Linked DNA regions of Homo sapiens: all the other regions are linked to region 3. The links are contacts of gene promoters, found by promoter capture Hi-C in blood cells and fetal thymus (Javierre and others, 2016). All regions are on one chromosome and are shown on one strand. Each heading gives the region's core, a stretch centred on a gene start or on the middle of the fragment in contact. The rest is flanking DNA. Distances are from core to core; before and after follow the strand shown.

Region 1 (2,845 bases), core at 71-2,570, 540 kb after region 3:
CACACACTCCAGGCCCTCGTCATTGCAGCAGCCCCCGCATCGCATCAGGGGCACACAGGATGGCTTGAAGATGTACTCGATCTCATCAGGGTACTCCTGGAAGATGTCCACCAGGGTCTCGATTGGATGGCAGTAGCTGCGCTGATAGACATCCATGAACTTCACCACTGCATGAGAGGCGATGACACATGAGCCCGGTGGGCGACACAAAAGATGGCTAGCCCCTCTCTCCACCCAGCTCTGTAATGCCACTCTTTGGAGCTTCCGAATCAGGCAAGTCCTTCCAAAATCTAACGTAAGTCCCTCCTACTGTGTTTGAAGCACTTCCCTAAGCTTTCCACCATCAACACTGGTGAAGGCCTGTTTTCATTCCAGAGATCACACGATGTACTCAAGTTCCAAGGGACATGGCCTGCCACATCTGATCCCGCCACCTCACTGTGACAGCTGAACTGAATCCTGGGCCAACCTCGATGCCAGAGGACAGTCTGAGTATGGGTATACCCCATGGGGATGCTCTAAGCTTTCCCTAAAAGGAGGAAGAGCCAGCTTTGCCAAGCTAGTCTCCAGTTTCCTACGTCCTCCCCACAACCACTACCATAACGTCAACCATACCAACAGCTGTTTATTGAGCACTTACTACATCCTGAGTACTGTGTACAGTAGTCCACAGCTATCATTTCACACAAGTTTCTCCACATGGTACTATTAGACACTATTGAGATTCCATTTTACAGATGGGGAACAGGAGGCTCAAAGAGGCTAAGTAAGTTGCCCCAAGGCCGCACAGCTAGTAAGTAAAGGAGTCAGAATTAGCTGACATCAAAGTGTTCCCAAGCCTATATTAGGCAAAAACAGAGGAGGCACCTTTCAGGAGGAGGCACCTTTCCCCCTGCCAGTCCTCTTCCCCAGACATGAGCTGAGAAGGTGGTGGGCATCAGCACAGGGGCTGGGCCCTCCTGGAACCCACAGGTGGCAGTGGGCGGACACGCTGTGCCAGCCCTGCCAGCCACTGATAACCCCGCCCAAGAGGGCAAACTGCTTGCATCATGGAAAAAACAGTGCTGCCACTGTAGCCACGAAACATTTCTAGAAGCTGATCTGAAGGGAGACCAGGGTAGAGACAGTTTCCCAGGCTGGCCACGAAGCCTGGGGTGCACTGGAGCATGAAGGGGTAATTCTGGGCCACAGAGGCGGGGCCCTTGAGAATAAATAAATGCAGGACTCTGGCATGACTACTCCAAATTGTGGCCCAGCCTGCCACGCCTATCGCACCCCACCACCACTACCACATAGCAATCCTGTCCCTGAAATAGGTTCCCTACCCAGAGGGAAGAAATAACACCTGGCCAGTGAGGAGGCCCAGGCTCTGGCCATGAGTTGGTATGACCTTGGGCCAGTCCCTCCCCTCTCTAGGCCTCCAACTCTGCTCAACTGTGTAAGTGGGTTGGGCTGATCTCTAAAGATGCTGAAACAGGCTGAAAAAGGTGGTGTTTTGGCTTCCATTTCCAGCCCTAGGAACAAGTGCTCTTTTTTCAGCCTGGGTAATATGAAGTTTAGAACTTCACCAAAGCATCTTAAGTGTATGCTTCGTGGACTTCCACCCCAGCTCCCAACCCCCACCCCCCAGAGACCACAGCTGAGCCTCCCCCTCACTCCTCCCTCCAAGGTCTGCTTTCCAGAAGAATAAAGGACAATGAGGGGGGCTATGTACACAATAGGTTGATTGGGAAGAAGGTGGGGAGAAGGCCACAGGTGTGAAAACAGAAAGAACAGTGGGGAAACAGGCCAGTCCACTGCTTCCTGTGAGGTCTCTATTTCTTTTATCCAGACCACCAATGGGCACAGAATCCTTCTCTACCCACGAAGGGTTACGGCAAAGCATCATCAAAAAGAGTGAACGAGACTAGAAGTCTGAAAAGGTCATTTTTTAAAGCCAAGTCGATAGGGGAGAAGATGACTAATCAAGAAGTTTTGAACTGCCCCTTCATCACAATTGGGACAGAGGAGGGCCAGGCTTGTGGCCCAGGAGGGGATAGCAGGAAGGTCTGGCCTGGGCAAGGGGTTGGTAACTGAGGGTAAAAAGACCTGGGGTAGGAATTCCCCCAAAAAGCTTCCCCTTGGAATGAATCCCCAAGTCCCATGGGAGGTGGAGGCGGGGAACCTCACCCGCATCCTTCATCAGGCAGCCGCCCCTCCAAGGAGGGCTGGCCTCCACTGCCTGGGGGAGCACACACGTACACTCCAACAACCAGGCTTTCGTGGTTTTCCTTATTTATCGCAGACAACCTTTTCTCCAGCAAACAAAGACCTTTGTCCTGCCTCTCCCAGACCAGAGACCACTGGGAAGCTGGAAGGGGTAAGTGGCGCACTGGAAGCAGGGGGCCGGTCAGTGGCTGAGAAGCCAGGTCCTAGGCCAAGGAAAGGGCTCCTGGGGTGGGGAAGGAGGAGGCAGAACAGGCTGGGCATCACCACTGCTGGCCACTACCCAGCCACGCCAGATTTAGGTCAGGGAAACTCGCGGGAAGGAAGACCCCAGGGCCTTCCCTCCCCAGAGGTGGAGAGCACAGGCCACAGTCAGTGGTGGGGAGAGCCAGGGTGTCCCCAGAGAAATGGGAGGATCCAAACCACAACGGAACAAAAGGCAGGCGGACTCGGGGTTGGGCAGGGGGGCGGGGCGCCTGGGAGCTACAGCCAGCCCTCTGCTGGCCTGGGAGGGAAGTTCACAGCACCCGAACATAGTCAAATGGGGTTTTCTCCACCCCCAAAGGAATGCAAACCAGGGAAGGGAGGAGAGATCCCATTAGGCTGAGCCCTCTGTGCCTCCAGCTCACACAGGAAGGGT
Region 2 (3,013 bases), core at 499-2,998, 740 kb after region 3:
GGTTCCATTAGTTTGGTTTTTATTATTAATATTTAAAATAGACACAAAAGTGGAGAGAATACGACAGTGATTCTGCATGTTCCTGTCACCTAAATTCAGCAATCAAAGATTTTACCGCATTTACTTTTTCCACCGCCTATCCTCTCTCCCTGCCTCGAAGGTTTTTAAAAGAAACCCTAGAAATTGTTATTTCACCCCTATGTACGTCAGGGGGATGTCTCTAACAAATAATTTCTTATTCCTTTGTGTCCATTTTTTTCCAACACTAGTAGGGCTACTGTTGGCCGTAGCATGGAAAAAATCTGGAACCATCACGCTGGAAGGAATGTTTATCAGTTCTTTATTCATAATATATATATAATATATACACATAAAATAGAGTGAACACCACTTGGAGGAAATGTTATATATGTGTAACTTTTATATATTTTATATTTTTATTTTTATATTAAATATATATTTTTAAAGCAACTGTGCTTGGAGATCCACATAATATTGATCTAGGTTTTGCAACTTTAAACATATAGCTTAGGTTGGAGTTTCTTTTTGAGTAGGGTCTCACTCTGGTTGTCCAGGCTGGCGTGCAGTGGTGAGATCTCGGCTCACTTCAGCCTTGATTTCTCGAGCTCAAGTGATTCTCCTACCACTTCAGCCTCCTGAGTAGCTGGGATTACAGGCACCTGCCACCATGCCCGGCTAATTTAAAAAAATATTTTTAGTGGGCCGGGCACAGTGGCTCACGCCTGTAATCCCAGCACTTTGGGAGGCCAAGGCAGGTGGGTCACCTGAGGTCAGGAGTTCAAGACCAGCCTGGTCAACATGATGAAACCTTGTTTCTACTAAAAATACAAAAATTAGCTGGGTGTGGTGGCGTGCACTTGTAGTCCCAGCTACATGGGCTCAGGAGGCTGAGGCAGGAGAACTGCTTGAACCTGGGAAGCAGAGGTTGCAGTGAGCCGAGATCATGCCATTGCATTCCAGCCTGGGCGACAGAGTGAGACTCCGTCTCAAAAAAAAAAAAAAAAAATATATATATATATATATATTTAATAGAGATGGGGTTTCGCCATGTTGCCTAGGCTAGTCTCAGACTCCTAGACTCAAGTAGTCCACCCATCTCAGCCTCCCAGAGTGCTGGGACAGGTGTGAGCCACCGCACCCGGCCCTGGTTGGAGTTTCTTAAGATGAAATTCTTTTAGTCCCTATTCTCTCAGCCCTCGAAAGGAAACACTAACTTTTCTTCTTTCAGTTTTGTGAGGAGTTTAAAGAAAAGTGTCCTATCTGTGTCCCCTGTGGCTTGAGGTTGGCTGAGAAAACACAAGTTGCCATCGTCAGACATTTTGGCCTTCAGATCCTGGAACACGTTGTCAAGTAAGGAGCTCTTGGACATTACCACTGAAGTCTGAGAGAACAGATCTTTATATCTTATATAACCTATAGAGATGCTGTTTAGGTGAGTAGAGAAGAGCAATCTCCAAGAAGAGAGGAATGATCCCCTAGATGTTATCAGAACCTCACAGGAGCTCTCATTCAAGATTTAACCTTTCTTTTCTTCAGTTTCTTCATCCATGTAAAGTGTGTGGTACATATTACCCATTCAACAAATATTACCTGCCATTTAGCCAATACTTACTGAGCTCTGACTATATGTCATTAGCCCTCGAAGCCTTTTTAGAGTAATGCAATGTATAGGTCAATGAATCTCTGATTAGGCACTGTGGCTTTCTTTTTTCTCTCTGTCTTTCTGAGTTTGTGTGCCTTCTCTGGGTGGTACATCCAAAGCAGGATTGTATGAGAATAACTGAAAACCCATCCTAACTTGATTGTCCTACCCTCAACACCTATCAGAAGAGGTAGCCTTTAAGACTTAGCCATAGTTTTTCCAGAATTGTTTTGTAAGCCAGCACAGAAAATGACTGATGTCAAAACTGCATTTTCTGAAAAGCAAGTACATTGTTGCAGTTGACCTAGATGTATATTCACTTTTGGCCCATCAATAAAATCATGAGGCAAAGCTGACGTGTGGTACAAATCTTGTGCGGATTCCAGTTAATGGACCACTGCATATATAAAACCTTTTCCCAAGAATTTTTGTGTTAGTATTTTGGTTAAATGTAGATCATTTTTGCCCATTCATTGACAGGTACAAAATCAAAAGTATAATTTCTTAATGAAATCTCCAGTGTAATCAAATGTAGAAATCCATGCTATTCTCTTGTAAAGACAAGACTTCTAAAGTGGTTCTATTGACTTTATGCATTTTGGTGGTCAGGTTTCGGTGGAACGGCATGTCTCGATTGGAGAAGGTGTATCTGAAGAACAGTGTCATGGAGCTGATTGCAAATGTAAGGAATGGGTGGTTGGGAGACATGTTTCCAAGGTAGTTTAGGCAAAGCGTGACTTCTTCAATAGGGAGTTTGTGTAAAAATTCACTGCTTCTAAATAGGTCAGACAGCACAAGAAATCATAATTTAGGCCAGGCACAGTGACTCACACCTGTAATTCTAGCGCTTTGGGAAGCCAAGGTAAGAGGATCACCTGCATCTAAGAATTCGAGAGCAGCTTGGGCAATGCAGTGAGACCCCATCTCTACCAAAAATGCAAAAATTAGCTGAGCGTGGTGGCGCATGCCTGTGGCCCAGCTACTCAGGAGGCTGAGGTGGGAGGATTTTCTGAGCCCAGGAGGTCCAGGCTGCAGTGAGCTGTGATGGTGCCATGGCACTCCAGCCTGTGCAACAGAGCAAGACCCTATCTCAAAAACAAAACAAAACAAAAGCAGAAAGCATAATTCAGCATATGTCTCTTACTAGGTTTAATTAATCATGCTTATGTATTGACTTCTATTTTTTAAATTATAAAGACAGGGCAGAGGGGATTAAATATTTTCAACAAATCAATAAGATTCTTAGATCTAAATTAGATTGAAACACTATTTTCTTTTATTCCAAACAACTACTATGTGATACTAATGATGAAAAACATGCAGAATTTTAAGTATGCAGAATGAATTTGT
Region 3 (2,891 bases), core at 106-2,605:
CAGAGAGCCGAGATTGTGCTATTGCACGCCAGCACAACAAGAGTGAAACCCCATCTCAAAAAAATAAAAAAGTCATTAATCACACAGAAATCCCCAGCTGGCTTTAGCTTTCTGTTCCAGAAACACTGGAAAAACCAAAACAGGCCAAACACACTTTCAAAACAACACCTTTAATCTATGTGGGCAAAGGGAGAAAAAGGGGATCATGGAATAGGAGTTATAGGTGCTGTCAGAACACAAAGTTAAGAATTTACTATCACTATAGAAATTCAAGTCCAATGTAGATTCCGCAGAGAAACTATGTATACAAAGACCCCAAATAACTTAACACACACAGAATCGTGGCTAAAAGAGACCACCCTGATGGCTAAGGCCTTCTCGGTTATTACACTGACCTCAGCTCTGGAACCTCTATTGAGTTTTAGCTTTGGCAGATTCTCTTCTGTCTTCCCAATCTGTTTAATTTCCCAAGCCAAGGGCATCATGAGAAGCCCCATGAGCACCCTGATTGCATCCACAAGGGCCTGTTGGCTTCAGGGTCACAGCTGTTACTATGGAAAGACAGAAGGGAGAGGTAGAACAGGTATATCTCTTATCCTAAACGAAAACACACAAAACCTTAGGGCATTAGAAGGCTTAGAGAGTGAAATCTCTGCAGCTATTAGCCAACAGCTTCCTCCTGCCTTGACGACCTGGATTCTCTCTGATCCCCAGGCAAATGAGAAGACCAAATGTTAGGCAATTAATAATATAGCAGATGCTGTTTGGCTTCTGTGTTCTCCTATAGACTCCTGCTTCACGGGCAAAAATGGCCGTGTCTGATGCCAAGGTCCAAGGAAACTGGCAAATGCCTAGAACAGTGCCTAGCACATACTAGGTCTTCAATAAATATTTGTTGAATACCTCTTGAATGAATGCTGATACTCCCCTGTCACTCTCTGCCTTCTTCCCTCAGCCTGGAAAAACACACACAAAACACACACACACACACACACACACACACACGAAGTTGAATCCACACCTGTTTATTGCAACCCCATCTGTAACTTTGCAAAACTAATAAGCACAACAGCAATTACTGCTAGAATACGGATTTCAGTGGGCAGGGCATTTTGTCAATTTTGTACCCTAAAAGCCCAAAACAATGCCTAGCACATAGTAGGCTCTCAATGAATATTTGCTTAATGCCGAATGAATTAAGAGCCTACTATGTGCCGGGCGCTGTGCTAGACTCTGCCAGCGACCCAATCGATCGCTTCCACCCCGGCGGCAGAGGCCGCCCCCTGAGTCCTCCTACCGCCAGGGGCCGCTGTAGGAAACGCCTGGCTTCCTTCCCTCGTCACTCTTTGACCACGTAAAGTCACTGCCCGGAGCTACGATGGCAGCGTCAGTGGCAGCTGCAGCCCGGAGGCTGCGGCGGGCCATTCGAAGGTCGCCCGCATGGCGGGGCCTCAGCCATCGGCCGCTCTCATCGGAGCCCCCTGCAGCCAAGGCCTCGGCCGTGAGGGCCGCCTTTCTGAACTTCTTTCGGGACCGCCATGGCCACCGGCTGGTGCCCTCCGCTTCCGTGCGGCCCCGCGGCGACCCCAGTTTGCTTTTTGTCAATGCGGGCATGAACCAGGTGAGGGCCGAACCATACTGATAGGGAGCGGAGTTCGTGAGTTTTCTGGTGAGAAAGACGCTGCAGGATTGGGCAAAAGAAGCGAGAGGCGGAGTTCGTAGCTTTTGGGGAAAGAGGGCGGTGCTTGGTTGGGTAAAGTGATGGGGGTACGGCGCTCAGAGTATAGGGAGGGCTTGGGGAGGGCTTGAGCTGGGAACTTCTGGATTGGGATTGAGTATTAGGTCCAGAAATGGCTGGAGTGGAATCCCGAGGGAGAAGTCTGATTTCATTTATTCGTTATTTAAATAAAGATAACGCTTTCATTAAATGTTTATTGATCACCTATTGTTTGCTGAGTACTATTCTCTAAGGTTTTGGTTTTTATCAACCACTCATCTTTTCTAGACTTCATTGTCCTCATCTGTAAAATAGGGGCGGCATAAGTTAACCTTAGAGGCCGTCTGGGCTCCCTACTAAATGAGTCTCAGTTTTGTTCCCTGAAGTTATTGGGTGTGGTTGAAGAAGCTGAGACGGAGGATGCCACCTTTCAGCGTCCCATTTCCAGCTCCCAACACATTCCTCCTTCTTTTACCTTGCCTATTTTACTAGGCAGAGGGTCTCCGGTTCATGATTTGTTTACCTCTTCTCTGCTCCCCACACACCAGAGATGGCTGTCCCGAGGCTCCCAGTTTGTCCTCATAGACCAAGATTACACTGCACTCTCAGGGGCACAGTCAGCCTTCGGTCTGAACAGCCATCCCTATCCTCACTCCCCACATTTCCCTTCTACTGAGAAATTGGATATCCCTCTCCCCCTCCCCACTCTATGTGCTTCCAGTTCAAGCCAATCTTTCTGGGCACCGTGGATCCACGAAGCGAGATGGCAGGCTTCCGACGTGTGGCCAACAGCCAGAAATGTGTGAGAGCTGGAGGACACCATAACGACCTGGAAGATGTGGGTCGAGACCTTTCCCATCATACCTTCTTTGAAATGCTTGGCAATTGGGCCTTTGGGGGTGAATATTTTAAGGTGAGTCTCTGGGGATCAGTGATCAGCCAAGAAGGGAGTCAATTTGTCCTGTTTCCATTGTACTGTCTGCTTAGGCAGGGCCTCATACCAGATGTGGAGGCAAAGTGCTAGTTGAGCCGGTGTAACAGGAATTACCTCACCTCCCTGATTGGATTGTAAGTCCCTGAAGGGCAGAGACTGTACTTTCTGCCTAATGATCACTCAAAAATTGTTGTTTGAATAAATGGTCAAACAGCAATGCTAAGGTGCTTACTGGAGTTA

What was found. Contacts are between HindIII fragments. The CHiCAGO score rates a contact against its expected background, and 5 or more counts as called.
Region 1: a contact is called between a fragment that was not itself captured here and the fragment with the promoter of AARS2 in region 3, in 1 of 17 cell types (total B cells). The highest score is 5.1, in total B cells.
Region 2: a contact is called between a fragment that was not itself captured here and the fragment with the promoter of AARS2 in region 3, in 1 of 17 cell types (total B cells). The highest score is 5.0, in total B cells.

What each region holds. Positions count from the first base shown.
Region 1 is chr6:43,774,791-43,777,635 of GRCh38, reverse strand. VEGFA (vascular endothelial growth factor A) reads right to left here. Exons shown (of 8, transcript NM_003376.6): 3 at 1-167. Among named protein-coding and RNA genes, the nearest start is that of VEGFA, 6.0 kb to the right of the region's middle. RefSeq lists an enhancer at 2,590-2,845. The HindIII fragment of the contact is 1,590 bases long and covers 526-2,115 here.
Region 2 is chr6:43,571,838-43,574,850 of GRCh38, reverse strand. XPO5 (exportin 5) reads left to right here. Exons shown (of 32, transcript NM_020750.3): 2 at 1,250-1,371; 3 at 2,273-2,345. Among named protein-coding and RNA genes, the nearest start is that of XPO5, 2.7 kb to the left of the region's middle. The HindIII fragment of the contact is 3,844 bases long and covers 1-3,013 here.
Region 3 is chr6:44,311,811-44,314,701 of GRCh38, reverse strand. It overlaps AARS2 (alanyl-tRNA synthetase 2, mitochondrial), which reads left to right and starts at 1,355. Exons shown (of 22, transcript NM_020745.4): 1 at 1,355-1,621; 2 at 2,439-2,630. The coding sequence starts at 1,379. It overlaps LOC124901322 (a long non-coding RNA gene), which reads right to left. Exons shown (of 3, transcript XR_007059594.1): 3 at 155-551. RefSeq lists an enhancer at 1,051-1,610. The HindIII fragment of the contact is 8,838 bases long and covers 1-2,891 here.